Regions from separate parts of the Homo sapiens genome. Here region 2 is linked to region 1. Evidence: promoter capture Hi-C in human tissues and cell types (Jung and others, 2019). All regions are on one chromosome and are shown on one strand. Each heading gives the region's core, a stretch centred on a gene start or on the middle of the fragment in contact. The rest is flanking DNA. Distances are from core to core; before and after follow the strand shown.

What was found. Contacts are between HindIII fragments. The study calls those that stand out against the background at their distance.
Region 2: a fragment that was not itself captured here is called in contact with the fragment with the promoter of LALBA in region 1 in 1 of the 25 tissues and cell types used here (aorta).

What each region holds. Positions count from the first base shown.
Region 1 is chr12:48,568,314-48,571,402 of GRCh38, forward strand. LALBA (lactalbumin alpha) reads right to left here and starts at 1,733. Exons shown (of 4, transcript NM_002289.3): 1 at 1,575-1,733; 2 at 769-927; 3 at 204-279. The coding sequence starts at 1,707. The HindIII fragment of the contact is 2,890 bases long and covers 455-3,089 here.
Region 2 is chr12:48,309,634-48,312,940 of GRCh38, forward strand. No RefSeq gene overlaps it. Among named protein-coding and RNA genes, the nearest start is that of H1-7, 18 kb to the right of the region's middle. The HindIII fragment of the contact is 3,871 bases long and covers 37-3,307 here.

The sequences.
Region 1 (3,089 bases), core at 483-2,982:
GCAACCCCTTATTAGGAAAATTGCTACCAAGGAGCGGAGCGAGAGAGGCTTAATAACAGAAACCTGAGTCTCTAGGTAAGCTTTGTTTCAGACACTGTATTCTAGATTAAATGACCAAGAGATAGGGTAAGAGGAAAGGGGTGCTGGGCTAATGGGGTAAGGAGAAGGAGGATGGGGAAATAGAAAATAGAATAAGGATTCACCAGTAGTCAATTCCTTTAATATCCAGGATCTTCTTGGCACACATTATGTCATCAGTAATGTCATCATCCAGGAACTCTGGCAGGAGTTACAGGGAAAGGATTGAGACAGCTGACAAGTATTACCCAGAAAGGCACTGAGTTCCCCTAACCCCTGGATCCAGTGGGTTCTCTAAACTCAAGGCTTGTGCCTGTTGTCTTTCTATATGAAAGGACCAATGTGGTAATGTCTAACCCTGGGTAGGGACTTCCTTCATTTCCCTGGGATATCTCTGGAGGAATCATCAGCTTCATCAACTGACTTACCCTGAAAATGCAGACAATCAGATTCCAAGACTCTCAGACAGCTCCGATTGTCTACCACTGAACCTCAAGGAACTGTCTGGGGATTTGATGACCATGAAAAATCCAAACAGCTTCTTACTCAGTACTGCCAATTCAAGTCCCACAATTTTTATAGAGCCCAGCCAAGGCAATGAAGCCTGAGGTCTGCTTGGCACTAAAAAGGAGATTATCCCAAGGGCAGGCCTCAGAAAAACAGAGAAAGAGGGTTATAGGGGCTACTCACTGTCACAGGAGATGTCACAGATGTTCCTTGACTGAGGGACCTGGCTGCTCTTGCACCAAAGCTTATTACTGATCTGGAAGAGTCCATATTCCGTGCTTTCATTGTTTTCAACTATGGCTTGTGTGTCATAACCACTGGTGTGAAACATGGTACAGATCACTGAGGGAAAGATGAGAAAGAGATACCACAGAGATGTACAGGATCTGCATAAAGGAGGAACTGTAATTCTCAGACAAAAATGCTTTCCAGCCAATCTCCAAAGATGGCAAAGCTCAGAGTTTCTTGATGAGATGGAGAATTCCAAAAAAAAATCAGACAATAAGAGAAAGAAAGGATAGGAAAATAAATGGGGCCAGGCATGATGGCTCACGCTTGTAATCCCAACACTTTGGGAGGCTGAGGAGGGCGGATCACCTGAGGTCAGAAGTTTGAGACCAGCCTGGCCAACATGGTGAAACCCTGTCTCTACAAAAAATACAAAATTAGCCAGGCATGGTGGTGGGTGCCTGTAATTCCAGCTACTTGGGAGGCTGAGGCAGGAGAATCACTTGAACCGAGGAGGCGGAGGTTGCAGTGAGCCGAGATTACACCATTGCACTCCAGTCTGGGCAACAAGAGCGAAACTCCACCTCAAAAATAAATAAATACATACATATATACATACATGAAATAAAAGAGTATGCAAATGAGCAGAAAAGAGGATGATTAGATAATTAAGTAAAAGTGGAGGGGCGAAGTGGAAGAAAGAGGGGATGGAGGAGAGAAGCGTATGAGGAATGGATGAAACACAGAGGCAGGGAACTCACATTCAGGCAAAGCGATGCCTCCATAACCATCTATGTCTTTCAGCAGCTGGGACAGCTCACATTTTGTGAATTGCTTGGCCAGGATGGCAGGGAACAGGATGCCCACCAGGAACAGAGGGACAAAGAACCTCATTTTGGCTACCCCCAAGAACCTGAAATGGAAGCATCACTCAGTTTCATTTATTTATATTCATGCAGAAAGCCTCAGGGGCTCTGGTACCAAGCCCTACATCTAGGAAGAGAATGAAGAGAGACTGGTCATGCCAAGACAGAAACGCTGAGCCTGCCAGCTTCCTTCCATAATTCACCCTACTTTTCCTTTCCCTCTCCCAGTATCTAGTCCATAGCAGGTATTGTTCTCTGGCCAGAAAGAGTTCAAACCATGATCCTGCTTCCCATTTGGCTTTGTTTAGCCCTTTGTTTCTTGTAGGGTTGGTTCTGGGAAGCACTGTCTCTGGTTACTTGAGGAACAAAGAAGGGCATGGGGGCAATATAAGAAGTGAGGCAATCAGAAAATACAATAAAGTTCTATACCGAGCTTCCCCCTTCCCCCCTAGAGACATGCAGAATGTGGAGAGGGGGTGTATGTCATCACATGCCACAGTCCCAGGATCAGAGCTGGCACTTGTCCAACCAATCCAGCCATGTAACAAGGCCCAGAATTAGTTCTTTAATATGGTAGCTCATGACTGAAGGCTCAGAAATAGGAATAGAATATGGGAACGTAGACTACAACAATCCGATATAACTTGGATCTTAAGACTTCCTACTTAAGGAAAATGCATAATTGAAAAGCCTGTATGAAAGCATCTAGGCCAGGCACAGTGGCTCACACCTGTAATCCCGGCATTTTGGGAGGCCGAGTCTGGTGGATCACTTGAGCCCAGGAGCTCGAGACCAGCCTGGGCAACATGGTAAAATCCCATCTCTACAAAAAAAATTAGCTGGGCATGGTGACATGTGCCTGTAGTCCCAGCTACTTGAGGGGCTGAGGCAGGAGGAACACTTGAGCACAGGAGGTCGAGGCTGCAGTGAGCCATGTTCACTCCACTGCACTCCATCCATCCTGGGAGACAAAGTGAGACCCTATCTTTAAAAAAAAAAAAAAAAAAAAAGAATCTAGCTATCCTACGAGCTATTATCAGATTCCCCACCCCTAACCACTCCTACCGTAAATAACCAAATACTACACTGGCATTGAGACATTACATAAATCTAAGACCAATAACTTGTAGACAACCTCAGAGTTGGCCACAGAAAGTGGGAAGGACCCAAGCCAGTGGAAAGATTGGACTTTAAGGCTGAACAAGCTTATGTCTGGAATCTCTATAAGGTCAGTGCCCCTGAGCAAGTAGAGTTGAGGATACTAGTTCTGAATAGCTCCTTTAATTTGCTGGCATGAAGCTTCATGTCATGGTGACAAGTAGCTCTTAGCTCCTTCATGCCACCATTCGTCTTCTTTGTCCTCATCTCTAAACCTGATTTCTTCTTCTTCTTCCTTTTTTTTTTTTTTTT
Region 2 (3,307 bases), core at 722-3,221, 260 kb before region 1:
TCTAGGACTTGCTGTCATCCTGTGGCAATTAGTGCTAGATCAATGTTTATCTAGCACAGTGTATTAATAGAATTCTCTGTTTTAAAGAGTATAACTTCTGAACCAATTTAGGTGCTTTGTAAAGTTAGCTCTTTTATCTGTTAAGTTTTGTAGCAGGCTTGTGGTTGCAGTATTGTTACATGATTCATATTTCTAGCCTAAGTCCTTGGATCCATGAGTTTATTTATTTTGGGATTTGTAAAGAAGGCTGTGTCTCTTTTTGGCATACTTGTATATATTAGTGTGAAAAAAACATTTTTGTATACTATTTATCTGTAAAAATAATTTTAGAGGTCTTGTGTATATGGTTATATAGAATCTTTCCCCAGTAATGGAGGAGGTGGCGGGAGGTCTTTGCATGAGCTTTAGGGCTTCTAGTACATGTTACATGGTTCCATAAGACTTCACTTACAAAACACAAATTCAAAACTAAATTAAGAATTGTAAGACGGCAACTTCAGCATTAAAACCCAAGCTTGAAGCCCTGTGTAGTAACATGCCCATGAAGCCAGCCTTGCTGATTATATTAAAAGATTCTTCTCCAATGGATGAAGGATACCCATTGCTTATATATTCCTGTTGTGTGATTTGTCTTGTGCAAAATGAAAGGCTCATTCACACTGATGACATTCGAAGTGTTTCTCTTTGCTGCAACTGCTCATTGATTACCTAAGGACAGAGAAATTGTCCCGTACTCATTGGTTACATTCATAAGATGTCTAATATAAATTGTCTCATGTGCCTAACAGATGAAAGATCAATACGTGCTTTTCCACATTCATAGGGATTCTCCCCATTATATACTCTTATGTGTGGTAAATGAAGGATTATATTGGAAGGATTTTTTGTACTGATTACATTCATAGGGCTTTTCACTAGTGTGGTTTCTCATGTTTTCTAAGGGATGAAGTAATACTAAAGGCTTTCCCACCATCTTTGCATTCTATTTTGTATTCTCTTGTACACTGTAAGGGAAAAGCTGTAATCAATATGTCCCCAGTTTGAGCTCCCCAGTTTGCGCTCTCGTGTACATCAAACGTGAGTGCTTCCTGAATATTTTTCCAGTATAATCATGACAGTTACAGGGTTTTTCCCCAGTGTGAATTCTCATGAACACAATGGGAGTAGAACTTACACTGAAAACTTTTCTGTATCAATCACATTTATAGAGATTCTCCTCAGTATTCTCTTCTCTCCTCTAAGGACAGATCTAATGCTAAAGACTTGAAAATGCTGCTTACTGTCATTGTGCTTTATTCTAATGTGAATTATAATATGTATCCAAAGGGATGAGTGATAACTGAAGGCCTTCTGCAGTCCTTACATTCATAAGGTTTATCTCCATTTTGTATTCACATGTACCTCAGAAATTAAGAGTTACTACTGAAACATTTTTCATATTAGTTATATGCAGAGCAGAAAATTCACCAGTTTGAATTTTCTTGTGTTGAATAAGGTTAGACCTTGCACTGATGATATTCATTGAGTGTTTCTCTAAGATGACTTATCTCCATTTTTGCACAATTGTGTTGACTTTTACATTTTACCTAAAAATGTCCTACTTAAGATTTGACCCTTTGATTTTTAAGTAGAACATACAAATACTTGGGAAATTTCATCTTCTGTCATCAACTCATCTTCTTTCTCTAACCAAGAGATCAAACGGAGTTTGCCCATATGATGCCTAAGTGATACCACGTTGGTAGTTCTCCTGTATCTCATTCCTGTGCAGGTTTCACTGAGATGAGTCCAGTAAAGCCCTCTTCATTGAAGGTCACTGAGTCCTGTGATTAGCTTGTCAGCAGCCAGGCAGCCAACACTCCCTTTCTTGCGTTTCCTGTTTGGTGACAGGGAGGGTCCTGAGCAGACCAAATGCTAGTTAAGGGCAGATAAACAACTGCCATCCTGTGAGTTTGACTGTAAATCTTGAAATTCAGAGCAGTGGGACTCAAACATACCCTCTTTTTGTTCTCACAGTCCATTTGGGGCAAGGATCTTAGACTTTTTAGGTGGCATCTTCCCACTGAACTGTGATTTTTCAGATGAAGACAGTACTCAAAAGTTGAAATTTAGTACAATTAATAATTTTTATTGCTTCATCAAAAATATTGAAAATTAAACTTGCTTTTTTTTCTCTTCTTCCCTGTGAGTGTGTGGTGATGAAGAATACAGTGATTTATGCTAGGAGGCCAGAATTTTGCCCACTGTTGGTTTTGTGCCATCAGTGTAAATGTCAACATAGGTGGGTAATGTCTTAGAATTATTATGAAAATAGTTTTGACTTTGTGGCATTTCCTCCAAAGTGTTTGGTTTCCTGACGAGTATAAGGACAGTATTCTGAGAATCGCTGCCCTAGAGAATTGTAAGGGCTTTTCTTTTGCTTTCTAATCTTTTTCATGCAGAGAAGGCATTAAGCTTTAGTGAATTATTCAGTATCTCCTTTTTTGTGTGTGTACAATCGCTTATCCAGTTGTTGGAAATATCGTATTCAAATTACAACCCATAGAAGAGATTTTACAAGCCGTGTAGACCAATTACTAGTCATTTTTAAATGTTCCTCGTATTTCTGGCCTCAATGCAATCATTTGAATCTTATATTTATTTGTCTGCTTCCAAGTTTTTTTTTCCATATCTTTTCCCAGTTATCTTACACAGTTTGATTATGTTGTCTGACTGTGGTTTTCTTTAAGTTGATACATTTGGGTTTTGCTGTACTTCATGGATCTGTCAGTTTATGCCTTTTACCAAATTAGGGAAGTTTTCAACCATTATTTATTAAAATACATATTTTCTTCTATTCCAATGTCTTTCTCCTCTCCTTCTGGAACTTTTGTAACACAAACATGTTTTTTAAAAAATAATATCTCAGAGGTCTCTGATTCTTTTTTTTTTTTTAATTATACTTTAAGTTCTGGAGTACATGTGCAGAACGTGCAGTTTTGTTACATAGGTATACACGTGCTATGGTGGTTTGCTGCACCCATCAACTCGTGACCTACATTAGGTATTTCTCCTAATATTATCCCTCCTCTAATCCCCAGTCCCCCGACAGGCCCCGGTATGTGATGTTCCCCTCTCTATGTCCACGTGTTCTCATTGTTCAACTCCCAGTTATGAGTGAGAACATGCGGTGTTTGGTTTTCTGTTCTTGTGATAGTTTGCTGAGAATGATGGTTTCCAGCTTCATCCATGTCCCTGCAAAGGACACGAACTCATCCTTTTTATGGCTGCATAGTATTCCATGGTATTATGTGCCATATTTTCTTTA